5 separate regions of the Homo sapiens genome follow, and regions 1, 2, 4 and 5 are each linked to region 3. The links are contacts of gene promoters, found by promoter capture Hi-C in human tissues and cell types (Jung and others, 2019). All regions are on one chromosome and are shown on one strand. Each heading gives the region's core, a stretch centred on a gene start or on the middle of the fragment in contact. The rest is flanking DNA. Distances are from core to core; before and after follow the strand shown.

Region 1 (2,700 bases), core at 47-2,546, 480 kb before region 3:
GTTTTACAGAGAGCTGATTGGTCCATTTTGACAAGGTGCTGATTGGTGCGTTTAGAATCCCTTAGCTAGACATAAAGGTTCTCCAAGTCCCCACCAGATCAGCTAGACACAGAGCACCCACAGATTGGTGCATTTACAAACCTTGAGCTAGACGCAGGGTGCTGATTGGTGCATTTACAAACCTTGCGCTAGATACAGAGTGCCGATTGGTGTATTCACAGTCCCTTAGCTAGACATAAAGATTCTCCAAGTGTCCACCAGATTAGCTAGATACAGAGTGCCATTGATGCATCCACAAATCCGGAGCTAGGCACAGTGTGCTGATTGGTGTGTTGACAATCCCTTAGCTAGACCTAAAGGTTCTCCAAGTCCCCACTAGACTCAGGAGCCCTGCTGGCTTCATCCAGTGGATCCCGCACTGGGCCGCAGGTGGAGCTGCCTGCCAGTCCTGGGCCGTGGCCTGCACTCCTCAGCCCTTGGGCGGTGGATGGGATCGGGCGCTGTGGAGCAGGGAGTGGCACTCGCTCAGGGAGGCTCGGGCTGCGCAGGAGCCCACATCCCGAGCCCTGCCCCGCGGGGAGGCAGCTAAGGCCCGGCGAGAAATCGAGCGCAGGCACTGCTGGGGGACCCAGTGCACCCTCCGCAGCTGCTGGCCCCACTGCCCAGGGCCGCTCTGAGTGCAGGGCCCGCCAAGCCCACGCCCATCCGGAACTCTAGCTGGCCTGCAAGCGCCACACGCAGCCCTGGTTCCCACCCGCTCCTCTCCCTCCACACCTCCCGGCAAGCTGAGGGAGCCGGCTCTGGCCTCAACCAGCCCAGAGGGGGGCCCCCACAGCGCAGTGGCAGGCTGAAGGGCTCCTGGAGCATGGCCAGAGTGGTCTCAGAGGCCAAGGAGGTGCCAAGAGTGAGCGAGGGCTGCGAGGGCTGCCAGCACGCTGTCCCCTCTGAATGCCAGGCTAATTTTTTGTATTTGTAGTAGAGACGGGGTTTCACGTGTTAGCCAGGATGGTCTCGATATCCTGACCTTGTGATCTGCCCGCCTCAGCCTCCCAAAGTGCTGGGATTACAGGTGTGAGTCACCGTGCCTGGCCGTGACCAGTTCTTAAGAGAACAGACAGTTAGCAAAGGTCAACCCCAAGATGACACACCTGGTGACATTGTCAAATAAAGACTTTAAAATAGATACTATAAGCTTCATGAGGTAAAGGAAAACACATGTTAAGTAAAGTAAGTGGAAAGATCATTAAAAAAGAAAATAGAAAATTTAGTATTGAAACATACAATATCTGAAATTTAAAATTTACTGGATGGGGCCGGATATGGTGGCTCACACCTGTAATCCCGGCTCTTTGGGAGGCTGAGGCAAGCGTATGTATCACTTGAGGTCAGGAGTTCAAAACCAGCCTGGGCAACATGGTCTCTACCAAAAATACAAAAAATTAGCTAGGCATGGTGACACGTAACTGTGGTCCCAGCTACTCAGGTGGCTGAGGTGGGAAGATCACTTGAGCCTGGGAGGTGGAAGTTGCAGTGAGTCAAGATTGTGCCACTGCATTCCAGCCTGGGTAACAGAGTGAGACCCTGTCTCAAAATAAATACATACGTAAAATAAAATTTACTGGATGGGTTCAATAGCAGAATGAAGATGACAGAGAAAAGAGTAAGTGAACCTAAAGACAGATTAATAGAAGTTATCCAATTTGAAGAACAAAGAGAAAAAAGATCGGAAAAAAACTGAATAGAACTTCAGGGACTCATGGGACTATATCAAAAGTCTAACACTGATAACACTGGAGTCCTATAAAGATATTGGTATGGAAAAAAACATTTGAAGATAATGACTGAAAACTTCCCAAACTTGGAGAAAAAGACATCAACTTGCAGATTTAAGAAGTTCAGCGAACCCAAAATAGAATAAACTCAGAGAAAAGCGCACCCAAACACATTATAATCAAACTACTAAACACTAAATGTAATGAAAAAAATCTTAAAAGCAGCTAAGGAAAAATGACACATTATATACAGGAGAACGATGATGTTAACAATGATGTTGGACTTCTCATCAGAAACCACAGAAGCCAGAAGACAGTGGAATAACATCTGTAAAATTATGACAAAACTGTCAAGCCAGCACTCCACATCCAGCAAAAATATCCTCAGGCATGAAGGAGAAACAAAGATATTCTCAGATGAAGGAAAACTAAGAAAACTCATAGCTAACTAAAAGAAATGTGCAAGGAAGTTCTTCAGACTGAAGCAAAATAATACTAGGTGAAACCTGGAACTTTAGGAATGAATGAAGAACAACACGAACAGTAAATAGCTGGGTAAATCTAAAAGATTGTTTGCCTTTTTCTTCCTATTTAGTTCTTTAAAATATGTATAATTTTTTGTTGTTGTTTTTTGTTTTTTGTTGTTTGTTATTGTTGTTGTTGTTTGAGATGGAGTCTCACTCTTGTCATCCAGGCTGGAGTGTAGTGGCGTGATCTCAGCTCGCTGCAACCTTGGTTCAAGCGATTCTCCTGCCACAACCTCCCATGTAGCTGGGATTACAGGCACGCGCCACCATGCCCAGCTAATTTTGTATTATTAGTAGAGACGTGGTTTCACCATGTTGGCCAGGATGGTCTCAATCTCTTGACCTCGTGTTCCACCCACCTTAGCCTCCCAAAGTGCTGGGATTACAGACATGAGCCACTG
Region 2 (2,700 bases), core at 40-2,539, 350 kb before region 3:
TTTCTATATGTAAATTTTGGAAAAGCGACACTGTAGCATGCCAATAAAATTTACTCCTGCATTGACATTTCCAAAGTAATTATAAAAAGGATTATAAAATTTACTAAAGGAATTGCTATTTGTTGGTTGACAAAATTTACTTAAGCCACATAAATGTAAATATTTCTCAAGCAACCCCTATAGAGTCAAGGGTTGCCATCAAAGAAAAGACTTTTGTTTATTCTAAATACCTTTATTTTATTTTAATTTTTTATTTTCTAAATACCTTTATTTTATAAAGCTAGGAAAAGTAAAAGTGTTTTGAACATTTTGAGGTCTTAGATTTTTACTTATGCCATTCTTTAATATACATGTTTCCATGATTTAAGTATGACATAATTCTGTATGATTTGCTTTAAATTAATAGTTATTGGTTAGAATTTAAAATTGAGTTTTATAGTAACCAGTAAGGATGCAAATTGTGTATTTATAGCAGTATACTAATTTACAGATTCTATGACACACGGTCAGACACACTGGTTTTTATGAAAATCCACTAGCATTTTTCTCCTGTTTACTCCGTGATTCCAGAATAATATGTAGGGGTGATTTCCTTGAGAACAGGAGTTATTGGCATCATTCTTAGGGGTAGTAACTACCTCTCCTTTCAAACACAGATCTTTTTTTTTGCTCCTTCTCCAACTTCCTTGCCATTCCTCTTAACTTCTGAGGCTTGGAGAAAGTGAACTTTAAAAACTAGAATTCTTTCTCTGTTTTGAATGACAGACCTTATGGGGTTACTTATGTGGTTGGGCTTTTCCCATCCCAGATGGAGTATGTGAATACTTTATAAAATTTTTTATAAGATTACGTGCTTAGAGATACTTTTGCTCCGTTACACTTCTGCTTTCCCAAACAGTTGTTTCTGTTATTTCACACAGAAAGCAATGTTCTACCTCATTTGGATCAAAGCCCAGTTAGTTTAAGACAGATATTTTGTAACAAAAATTTTATGTTTCTTAACATGATTTGGAAGTTAGTATTAATCATTATTCTAATTACTTGTATTAGTAGTTTGTCATTGTAATTGTACAAAGTGTTTCTAGGTTACAAAACCTAGAAGTTCTTAGCAAGGCGGTGGGCCAGTGATATCAACCCATGGAAATGGCCATGATAAAGCAGTTTTCTCTGGGTTCATTTCTAGTTTGTGTCATGGTTTGAGAAAAACAGTAGATGAGAACAAGTTAGTATGAATATTTTTAATCATTTCGTCTGCTAAAACTTCATGCCATGCCTAAGAAACGATGGGCTTACAGGGGTATTTTCAAGAATTGCTTTATAGATCTTCCTCATTAAACATTTTATAAGGACATTCTGCTTTAACAAATTACATGGTGTTGAGGTGGGGAGTATATGTAATTGTAAAAGGTTTATACCCCACATGCAGATTATTACCTGGTGACTGAAAGTGCTGCCTGCATCTTTTTTTGCAGTGCCAGGGAAGGTGGGGGATGGGGAGAATGAAACTTGAATCAGTGGCCATCTGGCCCAGATTTGGCTGATTTCCTGTGCACTGCCCTTTGTTTCAGCCAGACAATGGATTGTTCCTTGAAAAGATAAGAACTCCATTGATGACTTTGTGCTGAATCAGCACGTTTGGTTTGGGATTGCAAGCACAGACTCATATTGAAGGGTTTTCACTTGTTGGTAGGTCACTATCCTTGTCTTCGTCCATTACAAAAATAGCCTTAAGGTTGTTTTCTGTAGTTTCTGTGCTGAGATTACAGAAAAATTGAATAAAATAATTGGACATGTAGTTTTCTAGTTGTGTATTACCTGTCTTAAACATTGAAATCTCCTTGTCTTTAGTTTCCAGAATTCATATCTCCCTGGTTGTGATTTTTGATAAATCTTTATATAGAATCTTTTCTTAAGTCTCAACTTGAATTTTCCATTTGAATTTTCAATGACTTAAGTTTAATGTTGTCCTAAATCTAAGTTAGACTTTTATGATATGGTTATGTAAATGGTAAATTTTCTGTGATATCTGTTGTCATATATCTGCAAATTACATTTTAGGGTGGTAGAGCTACTCCTTACTTTAAATGCTACCTACTCACTGTGACACTGTTTAATAAATGGTTATTGACTAGAGAAGTAGGGATCTCTGTCACCTAGCATTCTAAGTCAGTCAGTCATCAGTTTTTGTAGGTTATCTCAGAAGCAATAGAGATCAGAGAGTAGTTAAGTGTCATTTTTCATAAGACAAGAACAACCTTCACTGCTACCATTTTGTTGTATGACCAAGAAATACAAAAACAATCATTTTCACTTCTGAAGTTATAGGAAGATTGTTGGCAGATTTTGTCTACCTTTTAGTTTAATTCTCATCTCTTTACAGTTGAATTGCCTTGTGACTCCCCAGTGCAGAATTTTCTCTGAAACCACTGATAACTTCAAAATCAAGCATCTGATCAAAATAAACTGCTTTGAGATCTAACCTATAATTCATTTGTGTAGATAAAGGTATGTTGTTTAGGTAGAATCAAAGGGCCTGATCACAAGAAAAAAGCTTAATTGTTAGTTCCTTAGGGATCTAATTATGTAGCAGATGGGACCACACAGCACAGTTTGCTGTTATTTAGTGTAATTAATTTTAGATCTGCATCCAGAAAAAAAAAAAACGATGACAACAAATGACACAAAATCTTAGTTTGCATC
Region 3 (2,700 bases), core at 151-2,650:
TGGCGCCTGTAGTCCCAGCTACTTGGGAGGCCGAGGCAGGAGAATAGCGTGAACCCGGAAGGCGGAGCTTGCAGTGAGCCGAGATCGCGCCACTGCACTACAGCCTGGGCGACAGAGGGAGACTCTGTCTCAAAATACATACATACGTACGTACATACATACATACATAAAAAGACGATAATTAGCGGGCCATGGTGATGCGCGCCTGTAATCTCAGTTACTGGAGAGGCTGAGGCACGAGAATGGCTTGAAACCGGGAGGCAAGGGTTGCAGTGAGCTGAGATCGCGCTACTGCACTCCGGCCTGGGCGACAGAGTGAGACTCCATCTCAAAAAAATAAAAAATATATATATTTTGATGAGATGTTGAGAAAGATGAAGACTGAAAAGTTTGTCTTATAGATTGGAACTTAAAGTGAAAATAATCTGCTACATTGTGGATTTTATTTTTATTATTATTATTTTTTGAGACGGAGTCTCGCTCTGTTGCCAGGCTGGAGTGCAGTGGCACGATCTCAGCTCACTGCAACCTCCACCTCCTGGGTTCAAGCGATTCTCCTGCCTCAGCCTCCCGAATAGCTGGGACTACAGGCGCGCATCACCACGCCCCGCTAATTTTTGTATTTTTAGTAGAGGCGGGGTTTCACCATGTTGGCCAGAATGGTCTCGATCTCTTGACCTCGCTATCTGCCCGCCTCGGCCTCCCAAAGTGCTGGAATTACAGGCTTGAGCCACAGCGCCTGGCCCATTGTGTGATTTGCTTCAGGTACAGTAAGCAATGCTAGGTTCCTGGTGTTGGAACAGAATCAGCATAAGACTTTGGGCTTCTCTAAGACCTTCTTTCCGTTCAGTGAGGAATTTGTATTAGGTGCTGCACTCACAGTGCCCTGCTGTTCAGAAACGTGATGGTGACAGTACTTTTTTTTTTTTTTTTTTTTTTTGGGAGACGGAGTTTCGTTCTTGTTGCCCAGGCAGGAGTGTAGTGGTGCGATCTCCGCTCACTGCAGCCTCCGCCTCCCGGGTTCAAGCGATTCCCCTGCCTCAGCCTTCCGAGTAGCTGGGATTACATGCGCCCGCCACCACGCCCAGCTAATTTTTTGTCTTTTTAGTAGAGACGGGGGTTTCACCCTGTTGGCCAGGCTGGTCTTGAACTCCTGACCTCAGGTGATACCCCCGCTTCGGCCTCCCAAAATGCGACAGTCCTATTAATTGGATTTAATCTCTTCGAATCTCCCTCTCTTGTAGGACATTTTTCTCCAAGACCAGCCCTCGATACCCTCAGCCGTCGCAAGGCAACCTCCAGCCGCCAGGGGCCGCAGTCGCGCTCCTCGCGGCCGGAAGAGAGTGCGGCCCAGCGCAGCCTCGGCGTTTCCGCCATGCGCCTGCAGTGCTCCGCGCGCTCTTGACGTCCGGAGCCCCTGGAGTAGGCGCTTCCGGCCATTCATACTGCAGTCGGTCAGTGTTCGGTTGAAGGATTCTGTGTGCTGTCGGACCCAGAGGGTGACGGCGCCGCTAGGATGAAGCTCGTGAGGTGAGGGAGTGACCAAGCAGCTCTGGGGGCTGTGAAGGGAGGGCTTGGCCCGGAGTCCGGAAGGCTGGGCTCTCCCATTTGCAGGAGGCGGGAAAGCCGCGTGTGCGCGGCCTGCTAACGGCCGGCCTTACTGCGCCCGCAGCTCGTGCTCGGGCCTGGGCTTCCGCCTGGGTCGCTCGCGGATCCCGCGTGTCTTCCAAGAGATTGGTATAAAGGCCGAGCCTTTTCTTCCTGCCTAGTGACTTAGAGGCTTTAAAGATGCAGCGCCTCCTGGGACACATCTCCCTCTTACAGTTACTCATTTTCTTTTTGAGTGGAACTCCCCAGTCCTGCTTAACAGTACTTAGAAAGCTGTATGAGCTTATCTGGAAACAAACCTGTTTGCAAAATATTTTAAATCAGAGAAGGACTTCCGGCTTCACAAGTTTTTGTTTTTTTAAATAAAGATGGTGTCTCACTTTGTTGACCAGGCTGGTCTCGAACTCCTGGGCTCAAGCTTTCTGCCCGCCTCGCCCTTCCAAAGGGCTGAGATTACAGGTTTGAGCCACCGTGCCCGGCCGATTTTTAAGTTTACCTTTTTATCCTCCTTAGATTTGTGATTGATTATTCCACCTCTATTTCCCTTTAAGGTAGGCTTTTTATTTAGGAAAATCTCCCAATATAGGGCAGAAATTATCACAACGTAATTGTGGCTGATTACTCAGATAATATATAGTTCTCCTGTTTTATTTCTTAAGAAATAAATAGACCCTGTCAGTTAGGTGAGTCTTCTGAAAACTTGTTTGCTGATGTGAATAATTCTAAACTACCTGCAAGTAGATTTGGTTTTGGTGTTTTTCCTTGAGACTAAGCCTGGAACAGAGGCAGACGTTTCTAATAGCTAAGCCAGCAATTATAAATATTTAGCTTGTTTTTTTCCTGTTGAGTCAAGGATTGTCAATATCCGCTAAATAGTTATTGGGCACCTGTTACATACTAGGCGCTGGTAATAGGATTTTTTAAAAGGCAGAGTACCTGCCTTGTTGGAGTTTTCTGGTTAGTGGGGATGACAGACAAGTAGATAACGTCTGAAGTAACGTTTGTTTGAAACGTTTTAAATAACACATAAAAGCCTTCAACACTCAGGGAGGAGGCCAGGCGCAGTGGCTCACGTCTGTAATCCCAGCACTT
Region 4 (2,700 bases), core at 36-2,535, 260 kb after region 3:
ACAAGAGTGAAACTCCGTCTCAAAAATAAAAAGAAAAAACAAAAAAAAATTTTACCAGAGATAAAATTAACCACAAAGAAAGGAAGAAAGGAAGAGAGGAGTTAGTTATAAAACAACCAGAAAACAAAGAACAAAATGGCAATAGTAAGTTCTTATCAATAATAACATGGAATGCAAATGGACTAAATTTCCCAAAGAAAAGACAAACCAAACTCAAAATTTGTAGAAGGAAGGAAGTAATAAAGATCAGCACAGAAATAAATGAAATTGGGACTAGGAAAGAAACAAAGTTGAATAAAATGAAAAGTTGTTTTTTTGAAAAGATAAAATTGACTGACTTTTAGCTAGACTAAAAAAAGAGAAGACCCAAATAATATCAGAAATGAGAAAGGTAACATAACATCTGATACCACATAAATGCAAAGGATCATTGGAGAATATTATGAATAATGATATGCCAATAAATTGGAAAACCTAGAAGAAATGGGTAAATTCCTGGACACATACACCCTACCGAGATTGAGCCACGAAGAAGTAGAAAACCTGAACAGACCAGTAACAAGTAATGAGATTGAAACCCCAATAAAGTCTCCAATCAAAGAAAAGCCCAAGGACCTGATTGCTTCACTGGTGGATTCTACCAAACGTTCAAAAGAAGTATTAATACCAATTAAACTCCTCCAAAAATTGAAAAGGAGGGAATACTTCCAAACAAATTCTATCAGGCTAGCATTACCTTGTGTATTAGTTCATTCTCACGCTGCTATGAAGAAATACCCAAGACCGGGTAATTTATAAAGAAAAGAGGTTTAATTGACTCACAGTTCCACATGGCTGGGGAGGCCTCGGGAAACTTGCAATCATGGCAGAAGGCACCCCTTCACAGGGTGGCAGGAGAGATAATGAATGCCGAGCAAAGGGGGAAGCCCCTTATAAAATCATCAGCTCTCATGAGAACTCACTATCATGAGAACAGCATGGCAGAAACTGCCCCCATGACTCAATTATCTCCACCTGGTTCTGCCCTTGACACATGGGGATTATTACAACTCAAGGTGAGATTTGGGTGGGGTCACAGAGCCAAACAATATCACCCTGATACCCAAACCAGACAAGGACACAATAAAAAAAAGAAAACTGCAGGCCATTATCCCTTATGGACATAGATGCAAAAATCCTCAACAAAATATTACAAAATACAACAACACATTAAAAAGATCATTCGCCATGGTCAAGTGGGATTCATCCCAGGGATGCAAAGATGGTTCAACATATGTGTCATGCCAGACCCCTACTGACTCCAAAAGAGATGGCATTGTGTCTGAGAGGCCCAGAAGAGACCTGGAGCCAGTAAACGAGACAGGGTTTACAGAGGACTTACATACAAGGCAGTCCAGAGGTGACAGGGTGGACAGGAGCACTGCTACTGTTTGTAAAAAGCATGCAGTTTATATGGCATTTTCACGTAGCAACACCAACCTAGCAAACTTCATTTAACCAAGAAAAGTGGCCTCGTTTCCTTGCACATCCTATGTTTCAAGGAATGGGCAGAGGGGTTCAACGTCCTTCATAAGAAGTGAATCTCCAGATTAGCCACTACTGGATTCCTTAGCATGGAACTCTGAGCACACATTCTTCTTAGACCATAGGGTCATTCTCAGGGTATGCTTAAGTTACTGCTGTCAGGTGCATCTGCCATACAATACACAAGTCAATAAACATGATACATCTCATTAACAGAATCAAGGATAAAAACCATGTGATTATTTTAATAGATGCTGAAAAAGCATTTGATAAAATTTAACATCCCTTTATGATGGGTATTAAAGGAGCATACCTCAAAATAATAAAAGGCCATCTATGACAAACCCATGGCTAAACATTGTACTAAATGGAGAAAAATTAAAGGCTGAGCAATTAGGCAAGAGAAATAAATAAAGGGCATCCAAATTGGAAAGGAAGACATCAAATTAGCCTTGTTCACAGGCGACATGATCTTATACCTAGAAAAACCTAAAATCTTCACCAAAATATGTTAGAACTGATAAATGAATTCAGTAAAGTTGCAGAATACAAAACCTACATACAAAAATCAGTAGCATTTCTATATGCCAACAGCAAACAACCTGGAAAATCAAAAAAGTAATCCTATTTACAACAGCTACAAAAAAATATAAAATACCTAAGAATCAATCTAACAAAAGTAGTGAAAGATCTATACAAGGAAAACTGTAAAACTGATGAAAGAAATAGAAAAGGACACACATACACACACACAAATGGGAAAACATTCCATGCTCATGGGTTGGAAGAATTAATATTTTTAAAGTGACCATAGTACCTAAAGCAATTTACAGATCCGATGCCATTTCTTTCAAAACATGAATAACATTCTTCACAGAAATAGAAAAACAATCCTAAAATGTATATGAAACTACGAAAGACCAAATAGCCAAAGAAATCCTGAACAGAAAGAGCAAAGCTGGAGACATCACACTACCTGGCTTCAAAATTTATTACAAAGCTATAGTAATCAAAACAGTATGATACTGGCATAAAAACAGATACATAGACCAATGGAACAGAATAGAGAACCCAAATATGAATCCGTGCATTTACAGCCAACTCATATTCAACCAAGGTGCCAAGAAATTACAATGTAGAAAGGACAATCTTTTCAGTGAATGGTGCTGGGAAAAC
Region 5 (2,700 bases), core at 136-2,635, 370 kb before region 3:
AATATTTCGGTACAAAACATGATTTAAAAAAAGACAACTATGTCTTCCGAGTGGAGGAGGGAAAGGACAATCAAACCTCGAACAAATCGTTTATCTTGCTAGTCACAGCTTAGCTATGCCTTGTTATTTTCCGGTGATTCCAAACTTCCAGTCCATTCCCTCTGCATGGATCAAAAGTGACAGGAAAGAAAAAAATGTATTTCGGATATGGCAAAAAAGAAAAATGCAAGACAAGCAAACAAAAGTACTGGGACATCGTATGAGAACTAGTTTAATTGACAATGTCTTTAAATGGTACCTATCACTTGACAATGATTCCAACCCACCCGGGCCTGGGCGCCGCGGCTGCCTCCCCACTCCCACGCACACGGGGAGCTCCCCCGGGCTGTACTGCACTAAAGGCACTCAAAATACATCAGCCTTTCCTTACCTCGATTCTTCCACCACATCCAGCATGGAGCTGCTGCTTCCAGAGATGTAGTCGCCTATCTGTGGCAACAATTAGTTTTAAAAATGGAGCCGCATCTCTAATAACAAAAGCCTCCAGCTGTGAAAAGTGGAGCTAAATCTCTCTACCGGGCCGCAGCATCTCTCAAGAACCTTTTCCCCGCAGCACCCGTCAAGGCCCAGGGCCAGCTGGACGCGGCTGCCCTGGGGTGGAGCCGTCCCCGTGGTCCCGGGAGGCTACCGACGAGCCGGGGCCCGGGGCCGGAGGGCGTGCTCCTCCGGGAGGTGCAAAAGTCGGCTTGGGCCCGGAGCTCCCGGGTTTGTTTGGTTTTGTCCGCGCCCTGCCCCCACCCTACCCCCTTCATGCAAAAGGCCAAGGGTTTCCGAGCCACCACTGCCCAGGCCGAGTTCACGCTTGGGGCTCTTCAGCCGCCGTCCAGTGAACAGAGAAAGCAATTGCGCAGAGGCGAGAGCAGGCTGAATGAACGCGGGCTCCAGGGGAAATAATTTTTCCTCCTGGCTTCGCGCGTCAGCACACTGGGGTGCAGCCCTCCCTCACAGAAGACCCCCCCCCCGCACGACCCCCTGTACACCCCCGCGGGGCTGCGCGTTCGTCTGTGCGGCGGGGTTTGGGAATGGAGGCGTGAGGACCGCGCATCGAGGGCTCCACAGGCTGGGCGGGGGGCGTCGTTGGAGGGGGGTAGGGGAGAAATGCGCGCCCACCACCCTCACAGAGGGCGAGGGACCCCCAAAAGCCACTCGCGGACGCCGAGGCAGCGGGAAGGCGCGAGGCGGGGCGGGGGGAGGGGGCGCGGGGGTCCCCGCTGCGGAGGCCAGGGCGGGCGGGAGGGGCAGCACCTGAGGAATCCGCCTCCGGCTGCGGCGGCCGCCGCCTCGCTCCGCCCCGGGGAACTGAGCGCGCGGACCGCGCGCCTGCCAGAGAGACGCCAGCCGCCGGCGGCGCTAGCACCTCGGAGTCGGGCGGCCGGAGCAGCGGAGCGCAGCGCGGCGCAGGGAACGGCACTGGGGGTGGGGAGACCAGCCCGGCCGAGCCGAGGGCCACCCCCTGGTCCTCTGCCCTCGCGCCCCGCTAGGGCCAGGTGAGCGGCCGCGGGGACTCCGGGGCGCGGGCAGGAGGTGAGAGGTCGCGAACCGGGCGCGGGAGCTCGCCTGTGACCGGCAGGAGCTGCCCTTTGGCGGGCTGGACGCCCTGGCCGCGCGGGGAAGCGCCGCAGCGGACTTTTCCGGAGGGATGGGAAGCTCAGCGGGGGTGTGAGCGGAGCGCGTGCGGGTGGCGAGGGAGCGCCAGTGCCAACCTGGGAGCCGTGCCTGCCTTCCCTGCCGCCTCGCGTCGCCCACCGAAGGGACCCGGCCGTGCTGTCCGCGCCCAGAGGCCGAAGGCCTGTCACCGGGCTCTACTCGCTGCCTTTGTGGCGGGAGCGAGACGGCCCGGGGGTGGGACGAGGGAGCTGCGGCGCGCCGAGTAGCGCGGGGTCCCCCGGCGGAGGCGGCGAGGGGGCACCTGGTTCGTCTCCCCGAGCCCAGGGGCAGTGAGGGGGTGCCGGGCAGGCGGGCGGGCGACAGGTAGGGCGCCGCGGAGGTGGCGGGGAGAGGATGGATGGAGTTCAGCCTGGGAAAGTTGAGAACGTCCAGAGGTGGCTGGGCGCTCGCTCGGCGTCTGTGGGTTTTTTTCCTCAACACCAAATGTCACTTCGTCACGAGCGGGCGCGCGTGTCTTCCGGCCAGCATGTCCATTTTTCTGTGCATGGCTGAGGACCACTCTTATTCCGAATGAGACACAAAGAGTTGTGTTGACAGCTGACCCTGACACAAGCAGACAGCGAGTGAGGTGCGCCCTGGCCGGGGAGGGTGAGGGAGACTCGTTAAAGGAAATCCATTCCCGCCGTCCCTCTTCCCAGCTCCATTAAGAGGAAACTCCATGTGGAGATTCAGTGCGTGGGGTTTCTCAGTTACATGAGTCCAAGGAACGTCCCCGAACGCGACTCGTTTGCCCGGAACTGCCGCTGCCTCTAACCGAGGCTGCGGGTCCTGGAGAAACTCCTCAGTCTTGCCCCTTTCTCCGGTGAACGTGACGGTTCCAAGGTCCTTATCCTCCCCACCCACTCCTCTGGCCCCGGCTGAGAGGATAGAAACCACATTTTAATTTCTGCTTTTCACACCGTAAGGTGTTTTTTTCCGCCTCCCCCCGCCTCGAGGCGGGAATCCCTGCTTAAATCACATTTTTAAACCTAG

Evidence for each region. The method cuts DNA at HindIII sites, captures the fragments that hold promoters and counts their contacts. A contact is called where the count stands out against the background at its distance.
Region 1: a contact is called between a fragment that was not itself captured here and the fragment with the promoter of SNRPD1 in region 3, in 2 of the 25 tissues and cell types used here (dorsolateral prefrontal cortex and spleen).
Region 2: a contact is called between a fragment that was not itself captured here and the fragment with the promoter of SNRPD1 in region 3, in 3 of the 25 tissues and cell types used here (hippocampus, mesenchymal stem cells and mesendoderm cells).
Region 4: a fragment that was not itself captured here is called in contact with the fragment with the promoter of SNRPD1 in region 3 in 3 of the 25 tissues and cell types used here (hippocampus, lymphoblastoid cells and spleen).
Region 5: the fragment with the promoter of GREB1L here is called in contact with the fragment with the promoter of SNRPD1 in region 3 in 1 of the 25 tissues and cell types used here (thymus).

What each region holds. Positions count from the first base shown.
Region 1 is chr18:21,132,073-21,134,772 of GRCh38, forward strand. No RefSeq gene overlaps it. Among named protein-coding and RNA genes, the nearest start is that of ROCK1, 22 kb to the left of the region's middle. RefSeq lists an enhancer at 1-101. The HindIII fragment of the contact is 6,202 bases long and covers 1-2,700 here.
Region 2 is chr18:21,261,622-21,264,321 of GRCh38, forward strand. All of the region lies in intron 1 of GREB1L (GREB1 like retinoic acid receptor coactivator), which reads left to right. Among named protein-coding and RNA genes, the nearest start is that of GREB1L-DT, 20 kb to the left of the region's middle. RefSeq lists an enhancer at 1,305-1,832. The HindIII fragment of the contact is 6,154 bases long and covers 1-2,700 here.
Region 3 is chr18:21,610,914-21,613,613 of GRCh38, forward strand. It overlaps SNRPD1 (small nuclear ribonucleoprotein D1 polypeptide), which reads left to right and starts at 1,401. Exons shown (of 4, transcript NM_006938.4): 1 at 1,401-1,530. The coding sequence starts at 1,517. RefSeq lists a silencer at 1,150-1,199 and an enhancer at 1,460-1,549. The HindIII fragment of the contact is 13,798 bases long and covers 1-2,700 here.
Region 4 is chr18:21,873,482-21,876,181 of GRCh38, forward strand. No RefSeq gene overlaps it. Among named protein-coding and RNA genes, the nearest start is that of MIR133A1HG, 43 kb to the left of the region's middle. The HindIII fragment of the contact is 6,212 bases long and covers 1-2,700 here.
Region 5 is chr18:21,240,847-21,243,546 of GRCh38, forward strand. It overlaps GREB1L (GREB1 like retinoic acid receptor coactivator), which reads left to right and starts at 1,386. Exons shown (of 33, transcript NM_001142966.3): 1 at 1,386-1,547. GREB1L-DT (GREB1L divergent transcript) reads right to left here and starts at 1,882. Exons shown (of 3, transcript NR_183513.1): 1 at 1,764-1,882; 2 at 431-489; 3 at 1-161. The HindIII fragment of the contact is 24,686 bases long and covers 1-2,700 here.